Regions from separate parts of the Homo sapiens genome. Here all the other regions are linked to region 2. Evidence: promoter capture Hi-C in human tissues and cell types (Jung and others, 2019). All regions are on one chromosome and are shown on one strand. The core of a region is centred on a gene start or on the middle of the fragment in contact, and the rest is flanking DNA. Distances in the headings are between cores, read along the strand shown. Region 1 overlaps RAB11FIP4 (RAB11 family interacting protein 4). Region 2 holds the start of RHOT1 (ras homolog family member T1). Region 3 has its middle 2.4 kb from the start of TRT-CGT4-1.

What was found. The method cuts DNA at HindIII sites, captures the fragments that hold promoters and counts their contacts. A contact is called where the count stands out against the background at its distance.
Region 1: a fragment that was not itself captured here is called in contact with the fragment with the promoter of RHOT1 in region 2 in 1 of the 25 tissues and cell types used here (dorsolateral prefrontal cortex).
Region 3: a contact is called between a fragment that was not itself captured here and the fragment with the promoter of RHOT1 in region 2, in 1 of the 25 tissues and cell types used here (lymphoblastoid cells).

Annotation. Positions count from the first base shown.
Region 1 is chr17:31,419,544-31,422,408 of GRCh38, forward strand. All of the region lies in intron 1 of RAB11FIP4 (RAB11 family interacting protein 4), which reads left to right. Among named protein-coding and RNA genes, the nearest start is that of RAB11FIP4, 29 kb to the left of the region's middle. The HindIII fragment of the contact is 9,425 bases long and covers 1-2,865 here.
Region 2 is chr17:32,141,090-32,144,171 of GRCh38, forward strand. It overlaps RHOT1 (ras homolog family member T1), which reads left to right and starts at 1,413. Exons shown (of 20, transcript NM_001033566.3): 1 at 1,413-1,640. The coding sequence starts at 1,604. LOC105371730 (a long non-coding RNA gene) reads right to left here and starts at 2,046. Exons shown (of 2, transcript NR_136413.1): 1 at 1,936-2,046; 2 at 137-1,624. RefSeq lists an enhancer at 744-913 and silencers at 1,374-1,603, 1,634-1,693. The HindIII fragment of the contact is 2,047 bases long and covers 375-2,421 here.
Region 3 is chr17:31,550,998-31,553,890 of GRCh38, forward strand. No RefSeq gene overlaps it. Among named protein-coding and RNA genes, the nearest start is that of TRT-CGT4-1, 2.4 kb to the left of the region's middle. The HindIII fragment of the contact is 6,994 bases long and covers 1-2,893 here.

The DNA.
Region 1 (2,865 bases), core at 313-2,812, 720 kb before region 2:
TTCTTTTTTCTTTTTTTTTTTTTTTGAGACTGAGTCTCACTCTGTCGCCCAGGCTAGAGTGCAGTGGGGCGATCTCGGCTCATTGCAAGCTCCGCCTCCCGGGTTCACGCCATTCTCCTGCCTCAGCCTCCCGAGTAGCTGGGACTACAGGCGCCCACCACCATGCCCGGCTAATTTTTTGTATTTTTAGTAGAGACGGGGTTTCACTGTGTTAGCCAGGATGGTCTCGATCTCCTGATCTCATGATCCGCCCACCTCAGCCTCCCAAAGTGCTGGGATTACAGGCATGAGCCACTGCGCCCAGCAGGTTTGTAGTTTTCTTATATTGCTTTTGTTTGGTTTGGGTAACAGGGTATTATTGCTGGCCCCATAAAACGAGTTGGGAAGTGGCTCTTCTATTCTCTGGAAGAGGTAGTGTAGAATTTATGTATATTTTCCTTAAATACTTAGTGAAATTATCTGGTCCTGAGGTTTTCCTTTTTGGAAGGATATAAATTGGGAAATTAATTTCTTTAATCACTCAAGGACTGTTCAGATTATCTATTTCTTCTTGCATGAGTTTTGGTAGTTTGTGTTTTTCAAAGAATTGGTCCATTAGCTCATCTAAGTTGTAGAAATTATGTGTGTAGAAGTGTTTCTAGTGTTCCCTTATTAGCCTTTTAAAGGATGTAAGACTGTAATGATATCTCTGTTTTCTTTTTTTTCGAGACAAGGTCACACTCTGTCACCCAGGCTAGAGTGCAGTGGTGTAATCAAGGCTCACTGCAGCCTTGACCTCCCTGGCTCAAGCGATCCTCCCACCTCACCCAACCCCGGTAGCTGGGACCAGAGGCATGTGCCACCATGCTTGGCTAATTTTTTTAATCTTTTGTAGAGATGGGGTCTTGCTATGTTGCCCAGGCTGATCTTGAATGCCTGGTCTCAAGCGATCCTCCCACCTTGGCCTCCCAAAGTGCTGGGATGACAGGTGTGAGCCACTGTGCTCAGCCTCATTTTTTATATTGGTGATTTGTATTCTCTCTCTCTTTCTCTCTGTCATTCTGGTTAGAGATGCATCAGTTTTGTTAATCTTTTCAAAAAAAAAACCAGATTTGGGTTTTGTTGATTTTTCTCTACCAGTCTCATTTTTAATTTTATTAATTTCTGCTCTTATCTTTATTATTTCTTTCCTCCCTTTTGCTTTGGGCTTGAATTTTATGGTATTGTATTTTCATTTTCATTTAGTTTAAATTATTTTTATTTTCTCTTGAGACTTTGGGGCTGGGTGCGGTGGCTCATGCCTGTAATCTCAGCACTTTGGGAGGCCGAAGGGGGTGGATCACCTGAGGTCGAGAGTTCAAGCCCAGCCTGACCCATATGAAGAAACCCCATCTCTACTAAAAAATACAAAATTAGCCAGGCATGGTGGTGCATGCCTGTAATCCCAGCTACTCGGGAGGTTGAGGCAGGAGAATTGCTTGAACCCGGGAGGCAGAGGTTGCAGTGAGCCGAGATCACGCCATTGCACTCCAGCCTAGGCAACAAGAGCAAAACTCCATCTCAAACAAACAAACAAACAAAAAGATACTTCATCTTTGACTCATGAATTATTTAGACACATACTGCCTAATTCCCAAGTATTTGAGGATTTTTCAGATGCCTTTCTGTTTTTGATTTTTTTGCTTGTTTTAAAATTTCTTTTCTTTTCTTTTTTTTTGAGACAGTCTCGCTCTGTTGCCCAGGCTGAAGTGCAGTGTGTGATCTCAGCTCACCGAAATCTCCATCTCCCAGGTTCAAGTAATTCTCGTGCTTCAGCCTCTCAAGTAGCTGGGATTATAGGCACAGGACACCATGCCCAGCTAATTTTTGTATTGTTAGTAGAGATGGGGTTTCACCATGTTGCCCAGGCTGGTCTTGAACTCCTGACCTCAAGTGATCCACCTGCCTCAGCCTCCAAAAGCTCTGGGATTACAAACGTGAGCCACTGAGCCCTGAGACTGATTTTTAGTTTAATTATATTATAGTCACAGGACTTTTTTTTTTTTTTTTTTGAGACAGAGTTTTGCTCTTGTTGCCCAGGCTGGAGTGCAATAGCGCAATCTCGGCTCACTGCAAACTTCGCCTCCTGGGTTCAAGTGATTCTCTTGCCTCAGCCTCCCTAGTAAGCTGGGATTACAGGTGCCCACCACCACGCCCAGCTAATTTTTTGTATTTTTAGTAGGGATGGGGTTTCACTATGTTGGCCGGGCTGGTCTCAAACTCCTGACCTCAGGTGATCCACCTGCCTCAGCCCCTCCCAAAGTGCCAGGATTATAGATGTGAGCCACCACGCCCGGCAAGACATACATTTATAATTTCAGTTTTTAAAAATTTGTTGCCAGACTCTGTGGCTCATGCCTGTAATCCCAGCACTTTGGGAGGCTAAGGCAGGAGGATCTCTTGAGGCCAGGAGTTCGAGACCAGCCTGGGCAACATAGTGAGACCCCCCGTCTCTACAAGAAAATTAGCTGGGCGTGTTGACATATCCCTGTAGTCCCAGCTACTCGGGAGGCTGAGGTGGGAGTATTGCTTGAGTCTGGGAGGTGGAGGCTGCAGTGAGCTATGATCACACCGCTGCACTCCAGCCAAGGTGACAGAGTAAGATCCTGCCTCCCCACCACACACAAAAAAAGTATTATAGTTTGTTTAATCGTCCAAGATATGATCTACATGATCTACCTTGGTGACAGTTCCATGTTTACATGAAGAGAACGTGTATTCTGCTATTCTTGGGTGGTGTGTTCGATAAACATCAATTAGGTTAAGCTGGTTAGTGGTGGTATTCAGACCTTTTAGATCCCTTGTTGATTTTTCATCTAACTAGCTCTACTGTTAAAAATTAGATTT
Region 2 (3,082 bases), core at 163-2,662:
CTGAGGCAGGAGAATGGCGTGAACCCAGGAGGCGGAGCTTGCAGTGAGCCGAGATTGCGCCACTGCACTCCAGCCTGGGCGACAGAGCGAGACTCCGTCTCAAAACAAAACCAAAACAAAACAAAAAATCTGTGGATTACAACTTTTTAGTGACTTTTTAATATAATAATGATAGCTGAGATCAGTAGAGCACACGCTCTGAGTCTGGCACTGTACCAAATGCTTGACAAGTATTATAGTATTTATTACTCACAACCATCTCAAGAGGAAGGTATTATCATCATTATTTCCATGCTACAGAAGAAGGAACAGTGGCTGAGGGAAGTAAAAATAAAAGCACTTAGTCGAGATCACAGAGCTATTATGTGGAGCCTAGATTCAAACCCAGGAAATTTGCCAGCAACTCTTAACTGCTGCAAGAGACCACATGACTTCTCCTAGGAGAAAGGGAAGTTGGTATTACGCACATTTCATTCCCTTTAAGTGTTTATTGTGTAATATTTAAGATAGAAAAAATGTACATTATGCACAGATAGTGCTTCCTCATTAATTTATGTATTTTATATTTCCCACTGTGTGCCAAGTATTAGGGATGTGATATATATTCGCACGCGTATGTATATATATATATTTGCCATTGTGTACCAAACATTAAGCATGTAACAACAAATTCCTCCAGATGGAGAGGGTCACGAGAAAATTAAGGCAATGTTAGAAAAATCATCTAGAGTTTATTATCGAGTGCCACCTCCGTGTCTAGCATTACGCTGGGTAAGCCTGAGTAAAGAAGAGTGTCCGAAAACCCTGCCATAAAATAAACTACATAGACAGAAAAAAAGTCACTTAGTTTGGTTATAAAGAAAGGAGTCTTGTTCACACAGCGTAAAAACGAATCTTATAATCGTATTTTATAAGCATCAGAGGCAAAAGCAACTAGGGTGACGGGCTTTGGGGAGTGGAAAGCGCCGGATCCTGGGAGCCAGTCGCCCTACTCGATCAAGCATTTTCTGACGGCCCTATCCAATAACGTGGGGACGCAGCTGAAAACCATGCAAGCTGATCGCTGCCCTCCCGGAGTTTATGGTCTGGTGAGAAGATCCCTGCTCTGAGTCACTGCCAAGCTCTAGCTATGTGACTTTGAACAGGGAATTTCTGTCCCTATCTATAAAATAAACGGGGTTAAACCAGGGAATCCGCCATTCAAATTCCTGGCCCAAGTGTCTCCGGGGTCGCGGTGCCCAAAGGAGGGTGGGCGAGGCTCCCTGGGCCTGCGCTGCGGCGGCCTGACAGCGGGAGCGCTGTTCCGGCGCAGAGCGCGTTCGCGTTCCGAAAGCGCGTGTCCCTCGCCGCGTGCCGTCGTCCCCGCCGCCGCCGCCGCCGCCGCCGCCGCCGCCGCCGCCGCCGCCGCCGCCACAGCCCGCTGGGCCGGAGGAGGCGGAGCTGGCGCTGTCCCGGCTCTCTTGCGGGGAAGCAACTGAGGGGGCGGCGCGGCGGGCCCCGGCGGCCGAAGAGGCTGGCAGGTGGCGCCGTGGGGTGGGTGCTCCTGGTGAGAGGAGTCCACTCCGTGCGTGCGGGCGGAGGCCGGCCCCCGAGAGCCGCCGACATGAAGAAAGACGTGCGGATCCTGCTGGTGGGAGAACGTGAGTCCGCACCCTCTGGCCGGCCCCTGAGTCCCTGCCCTCCCTGCCCCTGCAGCCCCTGTCGCCCCTGTCGCCCCTGCAGCCCCAACCTTTGCAGCCCCGGCCCTTCTCGCGCCTCACAGCTCCGCTCGCCTTTCTCCGCGTTCCTAGGCCTTCCAGCCCCTTCACTCTTCTCTTTTGGCTGGCCGCCGGCGGCCCTCACCCTGTCACCTCACCTGGGCCCTCCAGAGATCTCCTTTCCCTGTTCCCCAGCCGTCCTCCCAAGCCATGTCCCTATTAGCCCTAACCGCCCGACCTCATCCCTCCGAAGCTTCTCTCCTCCTTTTCCTCTTCGAACCCTGTCCTTCTGGGCCTCACAGTTTCCCAGGCCGCCTCCTTTCAGACCTTCTTGTCTTCTGGAGATTCCCTTATCACTGCCAGGCAGGTGCTGGAATAAGCAGACTGACCAATAGGGATTGCGTGAACCGGCTCCCGGGGAAGCTGGGGGAGGGGTGCAGAACTATTCGACTTGTGGGCAAGGTCAGGTTTCTGCATTTTTTTGGCACTCGCAGTCTTCACTCTCTCTATGTATTGACATTAAGATATGAGTAGTGGAAAGGGCCGGATCCTTTTTAGCAGTACTTGTACTTTGCATTGGACTAACTCCTCGTACTCGAGATATTTCATCAAAAATTTTTACTCAACTTCGAGTTATGCAAGCGCTCAATGAATTAGAATTATCTGGGGAGGGTCCAATTGTTGTTACCCTAAAGCGTAATCTTTGCCCTCTTTTTAAGCATTATTTATTCCATAGTTACTTCGTAGTTAACTTATTAATAACCACAGGCACACAGACATTTGATATCTCCCCCCACCCAGAAATTTCATACATTTCACCTTTTGAAAATATAATAAAGGAGAGTTCCCTCTGTTCACTGACATGAGGACGCAACAGCGGGGACTTCTTGATTTCACTCTGCAAGTTATGTAACTCAGTTGCTAGGACTAAAATAAGAAAGTGGGCCAGGGATAACTGGATTGTTTGTTTTAAAGAGTTAATACATTCGTTAATAGTCTGCCATTGCTGTTTCGAAGCATTCTGTTTTAAACCATTATTTCATTCTTGGTAACCCCTCAGGGTCACCGTGATGGAATCCCAAGGAAGAAAGTTAACACGTTTTTACCCTCTTCTGTAGTGTTCTTTGAGTTCATTGAAATTTCATCCACCTGCTGTTTGGAGAAATCTTCCTTTAGAATTAGAATTTAGGAGTAAGCTTAGCCAGCCATAGTTTACTTTTTGATTTGCAGTTGTAAATTTTTATTTTTATTTATAACTATATCTTAATCTGTATTTTTCATGGACTTCCTTGACAAGGTTCAGGAAGGTGTTATTTAACATATAATTCATGCTTATGCTTTTGGAGCAAGGTAGGGAAAGTGAGTAGACGACTTGCTTAAAAAAC
Region 3 (2,893 bases), core at 331-2,830, 590 kb before region 2:
TCAGAAGAGTCTCAGGTTATCAGAAGAGAAGGTATAGGGCCCAGGCAGCAGAGAAATATTGACCTTTTCTCTAAGATCCCAATAAATGGAAGAGACGCTCTTGGCTTTTGAAGGTAATGCCGAGCTAGGGTGTCAGTGTCATCATGAAAGTGTTATTAAATACAAATTGAGGCCTTTTTTGACAAGCGCCTCAGCCTAAACAGAGTCCAGATATTCAGGCATAGAAATAGGAAGGTGAAAAGTCCTGCTCTACTGGATATTGCCTTGAATCCTGTCCCTTCAAATTCCTGATGAGAAGGAGCTTCAAGACTGAACATTGTGTTTTCCGTTTTTTTTTTTTTTTTTTTTTTTTTTGAGACGGAGTCTCGCTCTGTGGCCCAGGCTGGAGTGCAGTGGCGCGATCTCGGCTCACTGCAAGCTCCGCCTCCTGGGTTCACGCCATTCTCCTGCCTCAGCCTCCCGAGTAGCTGGGACTACAGGCGCCCGCCACCATGCCCGGCTAACTTTTTTTGTATTTTTTAGTGGAGACGGGGTTTCACCGTGTTAGCCAGGATGGTCTCCATCTCCTAACCTCGTGATCCACCCACCTCGGCCTCCCAAAGTGCTGGGATTACAGGCATGAGCCACCGTGCCCGGCCAAACATTGGGTTTTCTGAAGGAGCTGGAGCAGAGAATTCCACCCCAGCGGAGGGCAGAGGGACAAGCCAAGCCGAAGTCAATATAAGAGAAATGCAAGGGGCCGGGTGCAGTGGCTCACACCTGTAATCCTAGCACTTTGGGAGGCCAAGGTGGATGGATCACTTGAGGTCAGGTGTTTGAGACCAGCCTGGGCAACACAGCAAAATCCCATCTCTATAAAAAATACAAAAACTGCCAGCCGCAGTGGCTCACGCCTGTAATCCCAGCACTTCGGGAGGCTGAGGCAGGCAGATCACTTGAGGTCAGGAGTTTGAGACCAGCCTGGCCAACATGGCGAAACCCTGTCTCTATTTAAAATACAAAAAAATTAGCGGGCATGGTGGCACATGCCTGTAGTCCCAACTGCTCTGGAGGCTGAGGTGGGAGAATCGCTTGAGCCCAGAGGGTCGAGTTTGCAGTAAGCTGAGATGGTGCCACTGCACTCCAGCCTGAGAGACAATGAGAAACTGTCTCAAAAAAAAGTGCAAGGTACAGAAGAGGTCAGTGTAAAGATTTTGGGGAAACATGGGCTTCCAAAAGTGAAGGACCAGAGGCAGGGGTCAAGTATGGATTCCAGGTCAAGTTTTGTGAGAGGAACTAGAAGTGAAGGCAAGTCAGATACAAGCACCAGGGTGAGCCTGGGGAACAGAAATCTTGTAATTACCTTGAAGGCCAGCAGGTATCTACATGCACCCCTGTGGAGCCAGGGGTAGGTCATTGGCTTAAAGAATAAGGACAGAATTGAAGGCAGGGGCAGAAAGGGACACATATGTTGAGTTTGTTGCATGACCTCCATTAAATCGCTGATACTCCCTGGACTTCAGCTTCCTTAGTTGTAAAATTCTACAGTTGAAAGAGCTATGTCCTAAATGCCTTGTGTCCTGAAATTCTAGGTTTCTACCTCAGAGCCTGGACCTTGCAGAAGCAAGGGGATCACAGGCCACCCCACCCATCATAGTAGCCCCTTCTGCAATGGGGCTTGACCATTGCAACCTCATGATGAGATGTGACCAGGGCTCCTCCATCCAGGGAGTTATAAGCAGTCCTCCCTGATGGGAAGCGCTGGAGCTGCAAAGGCTCCGCCCATGCTGGTTACCCCTGGTAGAGTCCTCCCTTTTGCTCCTCCTTAGTGTCCAGGGCAAAACATAGGGCCTCTGGTACTGCATTTTGAGAGCCACGCAGGCAGACACAGTCATTTGTGGGCAGCTAAAACCTCCAGGATATTTTTTAAAACATAGACCAGAATTTGGCAAGTCTATATATTATGCCTCATTCTATAAGTTTTAGCCCAATACCAGCCTGGAGAAATATGCTTTTTTTTTTGTTGTTTTTTTTTTTTGAGACGGAGTTTCACTCTTGTCACCCAGGCTGGAGTGCAGTGGTGCGATCTTGGCTCACTACAACCTCCGCCTCCTGGGTTCAAGCAGTTCTTCTCCCTCAGCCTCCCGAGTAGCTGGGATTACAGGCACTTGCCACCATGCCCGGCTAATTTTTGTATTTTTAATAGAGACAGGGTTTCACCATGTTGGCCAGGCTGGTCTCGAACTCCTAACCTCGTGATCTGCCTGCCTCAGCCTCCCAAAGTGCTGGGATTACAGGCGTGAGCCACCGTGCCCAGCCCAAGAAATATGTTTTTAAGTCTTTTACCATACAATAAAACAAATTTGAAAACCACACAAATCAAGTGAATGCCTTAATGAATTATAAGGGGAACACTATCCAAATTAGAGAATTTTGCCGGATACCCCAGAAACCCTTTTTGTGTGTCCCCCCCTAATCACAACCTCCCCAGGGCCATAAGTATCCTTACCCTCTAATCACTTCCTTGCATTTTAGTTTATCACCTAATTGAGCATCGCGACATCTTTGTACACTATAGTTTAACTTTGCTCATTTAAAAAAATGGATAGAAGCTTTTTTTTTCAATCAGGAGGTACCCCTTCCTTCCCTTTCATTTCCTGGCAGTGTGTCTGTTGAGGACCCTGGGCCACTGCACCTGGAGGGTTTCCCACAGTCTAGATCTTGCTTACTGCAAACTCTTGGTGCAACCCAGTAAGCTCCTCAGTCCTCAGTACTTCCTGCAAATCAAATTGGCAGTTAGATCCAGACGCTGGATCGGAGTCAGGTTGGTTGCCTGTGGCGAGACTCTGGTATTACCTCCTCTGAGAAGCCTCTGATTCCCCCAGGTAAGGAGTCCCTCAGTTTCTTGTCTGGG